Linked DNA regions of Homo sapiens: region 1 is linked to region 2. Evidence: promoter capture Hi-C in human tissues and cell types (Jung and others, 2019). All regions are on one chromosome and are shown on one strand. The core of a region is centred on a gene start or on the middle of the fragment in contact, and the rest is flanking DNA. Distances in the headings are between cores, read along the strand shown.

Evidence for each region. The method cuts DNA at HindIII sites, captures the fragments that hold promoters and counts their contacts. A contact is called where the count stands out against the background at its distance.
Region 1: a fragment that was not itself captured here is called in contact with the fragment with the promoter of RTP2 in region 2 in 1 of the 25 tissues and cell types used here (mesendoderm cells).

What each region holds. Positions count from the first base shown.
Region 1 is chr3:187,241,028-187,246,831 of GRCh38, reverse strand. It overlaps MASP1 (MBL associated serine protease 1), which reads left to right. Exons shown (of 11, transcript NM_139125.4): 9 at 3,211-3,348; 10 at 5,277-5,351. Among named protein-coding and RNA genes, the nearest start is that of RTP1, 46 kb to the right of the region's middle. The HindIII fragment of the contact is 6,418 bases long and covers 557-5,804 here.
Region 2 is chr3:187,700,836-187,706,421 of GRCh38, reverse strand. It overlaps RTP2 (receptor transporter protein 2), which reads left to right and starts at 3,865. Exons shown (of 2, transcript NM_001004312.2): 1 at 3,865-4,457. The coding sequence starts at 4,294. It overlaps LOC100131635 (hCG1645011-like), which reads right to left and starts at 4,056. Exons shown (of 3, transcript NR_034062.1): 1 at 3,883-4,056. The HindIII fragment of the contact is 10,678 bases long and covers 1-5,586 here.

The DNA.
Region 1 (5,804 bases), core at 2,516-5,015, 460 kb after region 2:
TGGATTTTTGAGAATCTGAATGTTTTCTCATTCACAAAAGTATCCCTTCTACCCCTATCTGGCGCAGGGCTGAAATGTCATCATTAGAGGTTCTGTCTTCTGGGGCTTACAAGTTCTATGTTTCTTAAAATTCGCTGATTAAAAATTTTAAAAAGATAGGATCACACCTGAAAGCAGTGGTCCCAGCTCTGTGCTGTGGGACATCACAGGTCCTAAACAGTGATAGAGAAAGGGCTGGGGAGTGGCAGCTGGAATCTCTGCTTCCGTCTGAACATCTGGACACACATGTCAGAGAATCTTTGCATTAAATGGACTGCCCGATCTATTTGGTGATTAAATGGCTGTGCGGTGAGGGGAGAACCCTGGGCAGTCTGGAGACTGAGGTGCCATTCTCGGCTAGAGACACCACCCAAAGAAGAGATGGGCTGGCTACTAAAGACAAGTGTCAGTTGAATAAATGTCTTTAAACCTACAACGTATTAACAGCATTCATACTCAGTGACATACAGGGCATCAGAATTTAAGAGGAAGATTTGATATGTACCCAAATAATTGTAATAGCTTTGATGCAGACAACATTAGATATATTCCATCAAAGAAACATGAGTGAAGAGTTCCAGAACAAGGAAGCAGCCCTGCCCAGTTAGAATTAGAAAGGCTTTCAAGAAGAAGGAGTGTTTCATCAGGACTTCAGGGTGGCCAGAGCATGGACACAGGGTGCCCCGTGCAGCAGGGATGGCACCAGAGAGGCCTGGGAGCAGGAGGCAGCAGGGGAGCACACTGAAGGAGCTGGTGTTCGGAGGGTGGGTGCACCAAGGGGAGGAAAGAAGATGAGGCCAGGGAGGGGGCTAGAGCCCAAACCCCCAGGCCTGAGTGCCAGGGTTAGCTGATTGCACATCGTTCTCTAGAAAGCCCCCCAGTACAGCAAAGCACACTTGGAACTGTAGGTCAAGAAATGTGTGTCTGGAGAAAAATAAGTGGCAACAAGAAATTACCATGGAGATAGGGTGTTGGGCGGTACCTCCAAGGCAAGGGGAAAGAGAAGGGTGTTTTGATTCCAGAGTGCGGAACTGGCCAGACAGGACTTTAGAGAAAAGGATAAAACCCTTCCTAAAGCAAAGAGCATAAGTCAACGGAGGAAGCAGGGTCTAGTGTGTGCTGATTGTGCCAGACAGAGCTGCTCAAGGCCTCTTGTGAGGGGTTAAGTCACTTCCATGTCCCAGAGAAACATGGCTTTTTCCCTGCCACTGTGGACTTGGGAAGAAAGTACGCCCCTCCACACTGCCAAGACCCTCTACCTTCCACTATTTATCACCCCCTCTACCTAGTTGTAGGGCCAGCTGTATCAGTGGGCAAAGTTACTTCTCTGAAGTGATGTGAAAGTAGGTCCTCCACCCAGAAAATATCTATCCGCCAGCATCAGCCACATAACAGGCTCCCAGGGGCCCGTCCATCTAGCCACACTAAAGCCAACCCTGGAATTCCTGAACTGGGCGGTCAGGTGGACCAAAGTTAAGGGAGATGAGTGATACCAATACCTAGGCACCAAGTCAATGGCATTTTCTGAAAAAGGAGGAAAAATCGGCTTTAACAGAAAATAAATTTAAAACTGTTCATAGTATTTAAATAATAAATATTATTGCCTCATTATCCTAGTGTTGAGCTGCACACATTTACCTCACAAAGTAGAAGAGCATCTGTACTTTTGGATCATCAAAACAAATGGAGATGATTTGTCCAGGGTGATTGGACTAGAGGCCAGGACAAAACCAGTTGTCTTGATTGGCCTTCTTAGTGGATAAGAAGTACCTATATTTACTCCCCTCCTTCATCTTTTCCTCCAACCCGGAGGGACTTGAAATTATTTGCATTTTGAGTGGACTCTCTAGCTAATCAAAAAGATGAATTTGGAGTCCTAAAGTTAAAATCACAATGTCTAAATGGCACTCAGGGATAAATTATATCTCACTGTTTCCCAAAATGACCAGGTAAAATTCAGGAGGACATGGAACTTTGGAAATTTTACCAGGGCTCTGGAAATTCTGACAGTTGATGTCCACCATTGGCCAGCTAGTACCTAGAATAGGCCATTTAACTGGAAAACAGATCCTTAAGAACCACTAGTTCCATTTACTAAAACAGCCCTGGGTTTGAGGTCAAATCTTGCTCTCATTCTGATAGTAACTTGCTGTATGTCCTTAGACGAGTCAAGTCTCCTCTCTGGGCTCATAGATAAAATAAAGAGGACATTCTAGATTGCCTACTTCAGGTTTCTTTCCAGCTGTGACATTCTATGATTCATCTATGATTCTTCGACTCTGGCATAGGCTGTTATACCTAAGATTAGGATTTCCTTAAGAATGAAAAGATTGACAAATTTGGGTCCAGAGCCTCTGATATGGCCATGAAAAGATGCCCTGACTCTCAGCTGACTCACACTGGGCTCCATCAGTGCTGACAACTCCCCTAAGACTGAGCTGGACTGGAAAGCTCCCCAAAGACCACCTCTGAGGAGCAGGCATCTTTATTCATGTCCTGTACTGGGAATTATGGCTCAAACATGCGGCCATCAACAATTATAGAAAATGAACAGGGGAAGACTGAAAGCTGATCCACCTCCAACCCTGCCTCCTGGCTTCTATGGCCAAGCAAGCTGCCTGTAGAGAGGCAGCAGGGTGGGGCTGTGTACTCATACAGGAGCTGGGTTTTTTTATTTTTTGTGCCAAACTCCAATGTGAGCACATTAGCTGCTGTTACTCAGCCTAGGATTGGGACTAGAAGAACAAAAGATTATTTAGTTTATGTCAGCTAGAGTTTTCTCACTAAGCCAAGGGCTTCATTCTTGGGCAGAAGAGGCAGAGAGGATTGCACAATAAAACTAGAAGTAAAAGAAAGAGGCCCTGGTGGGTAAAAGACTGGAGTCTGCTTAAACCTCAGTAGACCTTCCCCTACCCAAAATTGACACTGGGCAGGTGAGTTGACCACACAGTAGTACCATAATGAATGGAAGAGACCTCAAAAGCAGGACCATGGGTAGCTTCACAGGCTGTACACTGCACACCCCAGGGGTGCCCTTCAGAGGCATTATAACATTGCTTTCTGGAATTGTGTGCAGTGCACAACCTGTACATCTGCATGAGATAGATCCATCAGATAGCCAAAGGAGGATGAGCAAAAGGCAGTTGAGGGGTCTCACTTCTTCTCTCTCAGTTGTAGACTGTAGAGCCCCAGGAGAGCTGGAACACGGGCTGATCACCTTCTCTACAAGGAACAACCTCACCACATACAAGTCTGAGATCAAATACTCCTGTCAGGAGCCCTATTACAAGATGCTCAACAATAACACAGGTAAGCCATCCATGCTAAGCCATCCCACTCCCGTTTCACACTCTCGGGGCCTCAGGGTTGGACTGGGGGCCGAGACAGCTGTGAAAGGAAGAACTGCTCATAAGTGTGTAGAGCCTGATAATGCAAAACGTGTCACTCACACATCTCAGGTTCTCACTTTTCATGAGCTTGTGTTACTGTGTCCATGTGGAGATGCAGAAACAGTCTCAAAACCAAAAAGCAGGCTTTTTTGTTTTTAACTTTAAAGCTAGCACTGATTTACTAATGAGTTGTTGGTGGGAGCGTGAAGGAGTCACACACTGACACAACTAAGAGAAGAAACGAGACCCTAAAGGAAGCCTGGAATCCCCCAAGTTAAACTCCTTCATGTGGTCTGAGGCTGAGTTGGGGTTTCCAAAAAAAGGCCAGTATTACTGCTTCACCCAGACTCTGCCTTGGCTTCTGGGTGAGGGCAACATCTCACCAGGCCAGACCCATTCAGCAGGTAAGGGACCTTCCTTCAAAGACCTCTTCCCCTGGTACGGACAGGGGTCCAGGCAGGGTTGGGGAGCGAGGAGTGGATCCTCTGTCTCCCCAGGTAGCCCAGCATATCCCCTGACCACAGCTCAAGCACAGCCACAGCAGTCCCTGTCCAGGCCCCATCCATGCCACCTGGCAGAGACCCCTGGCTGCCCCAGGGGCTGGGCAGCAGCACACTGGCCAGAGGGTGAAGGACCAGCAATAACCTGACCATTGGCCACACTGGGGGTTTGGGAGGAACTGGGAGGAGAAATGCTTAGAGACATAACCCGCCTCTCCCTGCCTTGTGGCAGCCCAACACCCGCTCACATGCACTCATAGTCCCTAGCAGAAAAGGAACTCTCAGGGAGAAAGGAGGGCCCATCGGCTCTGCCTCTCTGGCATGCAAGCACTGAGAACATTCTCCTGACTCATCTAAGCCTCCAACTCCTCTTTGTTTTTGTTTTTGTTTTTGAGACAGGGTCTCACTCTGTCACCCAGGCTGGAGTGCAGTGGTGTGATGTCGGCTCACTGCAACCTCCACGTCCTGGGTTCAAGCAATTCTCTCGCCTCAGCCTCCCAAGCAGCTGTGATTACAGAAGCTTGCCACCATGCCCAGCTAATTTTTGTATTTTTAGTAGAGACCCGCTTTTGCCATGTTGGTCAGGCTGGTCTCAAACTCCTGACCTCAAGTGATCCGCCCGCCTCGGCCTCCCAAAGTGCTGGGATTACAAGCGTGAGCCACTGCACCTGGCCCCAAGTCCTCATTTTTAAAAGAGGGAAGAGTTACAAAGCTCTTAGAGCTATTTCAAAATGCCAGTGAGATGGTGGCCACAAATGTATGCTTATTAAAGAGTCTGTCAAATGGAGAAGAAAGGAAAGGGCATCTGTGCAACAGGGAGCCATGTGAGCCCAGGTCTTTGTGACAAGTGAGGCGGAGGTGCCTTCCAGGACCTGGGCAGCGTGGGGTGGGGAGGGGAGCAGCCCTCAGCCAGGCAGGAGTGGGATTCCCCAGAGCTTTGGACAGACACCATGCTGAAGAGTGTGGTGTTTATTTTTGGGGGTGACAGCAAGCCATTCGTGATTCTGAGCTGAGAAAGGACATGGTCACATTCCCATTTTAGAAAGATCCTTCATGTTGCAAAGGGAGTTTGATAGAAGGACTAGGATGGTAGCCCTGTGGGTATTTGAAGATATTTGGAGGTTAATTGGTCCCTTTGGAGGATTGTATCCCAGAGAGTACCTGCCACATTCTTCCTCATTCTTCTTAGTACATCTAGGCTCAGAGACAATCGTATCTGAGCCTAGATGACCATTTGGAGGACTTTGTAATAACTCACTTTAGAGAAATTAAATACCCAGATCTATTTTCCATGTGTTACAAATCAACCATTTTCTCCCTCCTCTCCTAACCTCTTTCACTAATCCAGGTATATATACCTGTTCTGCCCAAGGAGTCTGGATGAATAAAGTATTGGGGAGAAGCCTACCCACCTGCCTTCCAGGTACCTCACCCTCCAAATCCTTTGCCTCACAGTTTTCCATCCAAGGCCCTAGGACCCCAGGTTTTCTGGCTGTTAACAGGGTGATGGGGGACAGGGGAGGTGATGCTTTGGTTGCTTTTTAAGAGATGTCTTCAAAAGGTTAAAGGTCAGAGAAGACTTGCTTCACACCTTCTCAAACCAGCCTGTATTTTCTGCCTGCTCCATCACTCTGAGAGCCCTCCTGTCCCGTCTCTGTGCCCTTGCCACAAGATTTTTCATATAACACAGTTTGCATGTGCATCTGCTGTTGTGCCGGGGAAATTTAAAAAGTGGGCACCCTGTCCTCAAGCACTCACCATGCTATCAAGGAGATGATAACACAAACAACATCATGATAAGACAGAGTGACAAATTCTTTCTTCCAAACAGCAACGTAGTCAAGCCTTTCCGATTCCCATGGTTTACTTACTGACT
Region 2 (5,586 bases), core at 2,616-5,115:
ATTCTCTCTTCCCAAGCTTTACTTATATTTACCTTGGGACTTTGCAAGAAATGTAGCTTTTTAACTATAGTGTCTATAAGCATATATCAAGAAAGCTCAAATTTACTGAGAAATATAAAGATCTGCATCTCATATGCTTTGTTTTACATCTCATGTAAAACATCTTCGTTTAACATATTTGTTTTACATCTCATGTAAGATCTGCGTCTCATATGCTTTGTTTTACTATAAAACCTACCTGCCTTATCCTTGGGAGTAAGAAAGCATTTTTATAGTGTGTAGTTATGCTCTTTCCAATTGTTTGACAACTGGGGAAATAAATTGAAGTGTTTCTAGCATATTTAACTTAACTCTAAGCAAAGCCTGATCATTTTGGGCCTGTGACTCCTATTGACTGTGTATCTTCTGGTTCCAATGTCAGAGCTAAGTGGTCTGTTTAAATCTTTACTGGGGGCTTTTAACTGCCTGTTTATGCAATATCTATGTAATGTTTGTCCAATTTTATGCACTTGAACAATTTTATCTTGATTTTTGGATAAGAAAAAGGGTAAAGTCAGTATCCAGCCTTAAGGGTAAATACAATACTAATGAGTGTATTAGTCCTTTCCCTTCTCACTCCCATGTAAATTGAAGTACATAGTCAATTCTGGGAATGTAAAGTCTCCAAGGAAGTTAACTGAGCTAAGTGTTGGGGCCAAACAGCCTTTCTGACTGCTCATCAAGGAATCCCCATCAGTCTTTGGAAGGTGACCTGTTTCCTAAAGATAGATACTCAAGGTAAAATTCGTTCTATTTATCGTGAGAGACTTGCCTCAGGAATGGACTCAGCTTTAATGGGTCCTTTCCTTATGTGAATTGGTGTCTCCTGGAAAGCCCTGGAACTACAAATGTTCTACTGGGTAAATGTGTGTTTAAAAGGAAAGATATATATTTTTAAAAGTCTGCCCAGGATATTGACCCCAGCCTTGTCATTTTTAGAATGGATGCTTTAAAAGCCAGCACAATCTATCCCATGCTCCCTTTTCACCCTGCCTTGATGGCTAGGAGTGTCCCAGAGATGAGTCATGGCTATTTTTGTGTGTGTTGAGCCTCAGCTCAACAGAAACTAGCAGGTTCTCTGAGTATAGCTAAGGAACTCTGATGAAGGCCCTCAGCCTCTTGGACAGAAGCAGCATAGGCTGTACCTGCTGAAAGTGTCCCCAGACCCTCTATATTCTTCCTTCCTAACTCAACCCCTATCTTTTTTTTTTCTCCCTTGCATGGAGCACACCCTATTTCTATCTGTCTTTTTATGTATTTACATCCCATAATAGATTCGTCACCAAATCTCTATCTAGGATAATAAGACCCGGAAAAAAGGATAAGTAGATATAGTCACTCTTAATACAGATTCCAGAGCCTTTGGGGTGCTGGGAAGCATGGTGCACAGAATTTGGGCCCTTGGACACCAGCAGAAACAGAATGTCACTTGCCTGCAGTTGCTCTGGTTGCTGCCAATTAATAAAAGGGCAGCGTAAAATCTTCCTGGGAAGATTCCACTATGTGCCACTATTAGAGAGCCATGGACTGCTCTGTGTGGCCTCCCCTGAGATTCAGAGGTCAGCTCCCACCCAAAGAGTGGGAGCTTGGACCATGCTGTCGCTAAGTGCTACATCCTGGGGATGGAGAGGCCTTCCTAATATCTCTTGAAAATACTCCCCAGGGGATCTTGGATTCGCCCTATAGCATCGTCTACGGTTCTTTGAATTGCGGAGACACAGGAGAAGATAGGACACACCTTGCATTTGTCCTGGATCTATTTCCTGGTAAAGAAATATTATAAACCACTAGCTCATTTTACTCAATCTTCTTTTTTTGTTTTTCATTTTTGGCCTCCAGTAGCCTGTGGGACAACATATCCCATCAGTAACAATGGCTGGCAATAGAAGGGATTCTTCCCAGGACTGGAGTAGGTGGAGAGCAAATTTGTCTCCTCAAGAACATGTATTGAAATCTCTGAAGCAGAGGTGTATACAGTTTTCAGAACTCTCCAGGTGATTTTGATGTACACACCTTTTCAACTCTTCATTACTTTGTCATTTTAAGCTCCACACTGGCATTTCTTACATTACTCTAATAAGTAAAATTGAATAATAAATATTTTACAAAGCTCTTCATTAACTTGCATTCCAAATTGAAGGGGAAAAGTGATTCTTTTATCCATCCCCTCCCCCTTGCTGATTTGTTTGCAGAATACAGGTGCTCAGTATTTTATTTTATAAAGAAATAACAATTTCTTTATTTGAAAAAGTATTGCCTAGACAAAATATGTATAATGAAGCTGCCAGAGTGTGATGTGGCCACAGCTGTACACAATATACATTTGTGAGCTCTTAAATCGTGGGTTCTGGAATAAGATAGTGTCATTCGCGGAAAATTGAAGTAGTAATTGTGCTCACTGATTGTATGAAAAGTGAAAACAGTGCTGTTACACAGAAAGATGAATTCTATTGGTCTCTGCTTAGAAGCTGCTATGCTAAATTAAACCTGATACTAGGCCTAAGGGGATTGCATTATTTGAGGAAAAAAGAAAATACAGGTAAACCCTGACAATTCTCATCCTCTTTCTGTTTTTCCTTTATTGCCATTTGTTCTGGGAACAAGGGTATACTATTTCTCAGAGGTTCTTTCCTGGCACGAGGGTCTAGGCCAGGCCATAAGCTCATCTCAGCTTCGTTCAGTTCCTGGCCATTCATGGATCCCTCTGTCTCACCTGGTCTGGTAACTGGCTTCTAAGGGAATCCCCAGTGAGGTTTGAGCTACCCAGTCCTGAGAGCCTGGGCCAGTAATTTTCCATTTCCAGGCCTCAGTTGTTTTAATTCAATGTCAATAAATTTTGGTTAAGAAATGAAGAGTTCAAGAAATAAACCAGATTTTTAAAAATAAAAGAGCTCTTCTAGAGCTGTCAGTCAATGGTTCAAAGACAATTGTGTCCTTTCTGAGGTCTTTAGCACAAAGCCGCTAGAGTAACACTTTTCATTTCAAGAGAGAATCCAGTGACATTGTCCCTGACTTCACACTTCCTGAAAACCACTTGGCAACTCAACACCAAGAGCTTCCGGTTCTTAGCAACCTGTTTCACTTCTTGAAGCTCTTTACTGTTGGAACTCTGCGTGTCTAGGGATCCAGACTTCCGGGTTAAAGAATCGTAAGATGATTACAGTTGGAAGTTGGACCAAAGCTAGGGTAAGCAGCCATATGCCTGGTCTTTTCCATGCTCAAGGCAGCCTCCCTTCAGGTAACCGTGTCTTCACTTGGATTACCAAATTTGAAGTCAGATTCCCCTCTGGTTTCTAAAGAATTTGAATTGGGCATCACAGAGCTACGGATGCTCTCTTGCTCCAGCTCAGCAGTAATGGAGGCAGCAGGAGCCTGCAGCACAGAACAAACTCATTACCCCAGCAGCCACCTTAGCCTGGCTTGGGACCAGGAACTGAATATGGGCTCTAACAGTTCTATGACGCTATGAATCTGAAATGTTATTACTGTGCTTTGCATGGCATATGAAATTACATTCTAGCTCACCAACTGGTCTAAGATTGCCCTGGGCAAAGAGATGTTACTTCTCACTCAATTCCCTGTTAGGAGCACAATAGTACTAAAATAAATAAACAAATGAGCTCGGTTTCAGAAGGCCTAGATCTGAATCTTGGATGAGCCACTTAGGGGTTGCATAAACTTCAGTTTCCTGATCTGATCTGCTTTGGCCAGCACACAGGTCAAGCGGTTTGTGCTAGGCACATGGTAAGTGATGGTCACAGCATATCAGGGGGTGTGGAAGCAGCAGGCTCTGCCTTTCCCTGTCCCTCATTTCTCCTTGACTTCCTAGGGTGTCGTACTTACCATAGCACATGATGTGGAGAATGCTAGAAGAGCAGTTGGGTGAAGCAGGGCCACCAAATAGTCCTTGCCTCCTGGAGACCTCTGGAAATCCAGATGAGTGTGGTCTGAGGTTGGGCCTCCCACTGTGCTTGCTCCTCTCAGGCCTACCCAGCGCTGCCTCTGAAGCCTAACTCAGGGCCCTGAAACTCCCCCTTGGGGCTTCCCTTCTCCCCAGCCCTCACTCTTGGTGCCCTGCCTGGCTACCATGGTAACAGGTTCCAGGGTAACAGAGGAGGGAGCTGGGTCCTGTTTACTCCCAGTCCTGCCGATGAGGATTCTGACCGTAGACACTGAATTGTCCCGTACCTATCCGTGCTCTTTCTGTGTTCTCACCAGGGCTGAGCTCGAACTGCCACCTCTGCCAGCAGGACCATGTGTACCAGCTTGACCACTTGTGAGTGGAAGAAAGTCTTCTATGAGAAGATGGAGGTGGCAAAGCCAGCGGACAGCTGGGAGCTCATCATAGACCCCAACCTCAAGCCCAGTGAGCTGGCCCCTGGCTGGAAGCAGTACCTGGAGCAGCACGCCTCAGGCAGGTGAGAGGTTCAGTGGGGAGGGACCTTGCAGACAGCCCCTGGGTCACAGCTGTGGGGTACTTTCCAAGGAGAGACAGAGCCCAGTCGCGGGCTTATTCTGGTGTCAGCTCAGATGGGGAAAAAGACAAAGACAGCCGGCTGGGTCAGAGAGTTCTTGCTTTTAATCCTAGCAATACCACTAACTCCCTGGGTGACCCTGAGAAAGTTATGTTCCATCTTTGGGTCTTAGTTGTCCACATTAAATGAAGAGCTGTAATATCATCTATGTCCCTGCAATCTCTGACATTTAGAGTGAGTTGGAACTGAAGGAAGGAGGCCATGAGGTCCATTGGGGAAAGTTTTAATCTAGGAGTTGGGGGAATGCAGGGGGTACAGCTATGCTCTGTTCCTAGATATGTTTAGTGAATTAATCCAATTTGATCTGAATACATAAACATTTATTGACCACCTGCTGTGTGCTACGAACTGGCTCTATATAGCTAAGTAGCCTTGTAAACTTGGCAAGTCTGTTTCCCTTTCTGGCTCTCAGTTTTTATATTTACAAAATGAGGGGGTTGGTCTTAGATAATAGATCCAATCCACTCTAGCTCTATTATCTATGCACCTGTGATAAAAAGATTTAGCTTTGAGCAAAACTTTCTTTAGGAACTTAGAGCCCAGGGTCCCACTCTTTATAGGAGCTGCACATCTACCACAGGGCAAAGAGTCCTTGAGGCCAAGGGGACGAGGCCGTCTAAAGTCCACATGCCTTTCCTCCTTTTAGATCATGATTGGGGACTGGGACTACAGAAATTCCTCCCCAGACTACCTCAAGTCCATCTGTAGTGTCTGTGCAGGCCTTTTTCCTGTGTCCTTGGATTCAAGAGAGGCCAGTAAGTGGCTGTGCTCTGGAGATGTAGCCAGAACATGGACACAAAGGCTGGGTTGTTCACGTGTATGTGTGTGAAGCTTCTCATGGTGCAGAATGGTGCTGAGGGTGGGAACAGAGGAGGCAAGATGTGGGTAGGGAGCTTACGTTTGTACTCTTGTCCCAAGACCTGGAATTATTGGAGTAAACCTGCCTTGTGAAAAAAAGACAGAAAACCAGAGGTTGGCTGATTCATGTCAGTTCCATCAACTCAAGAAGCAT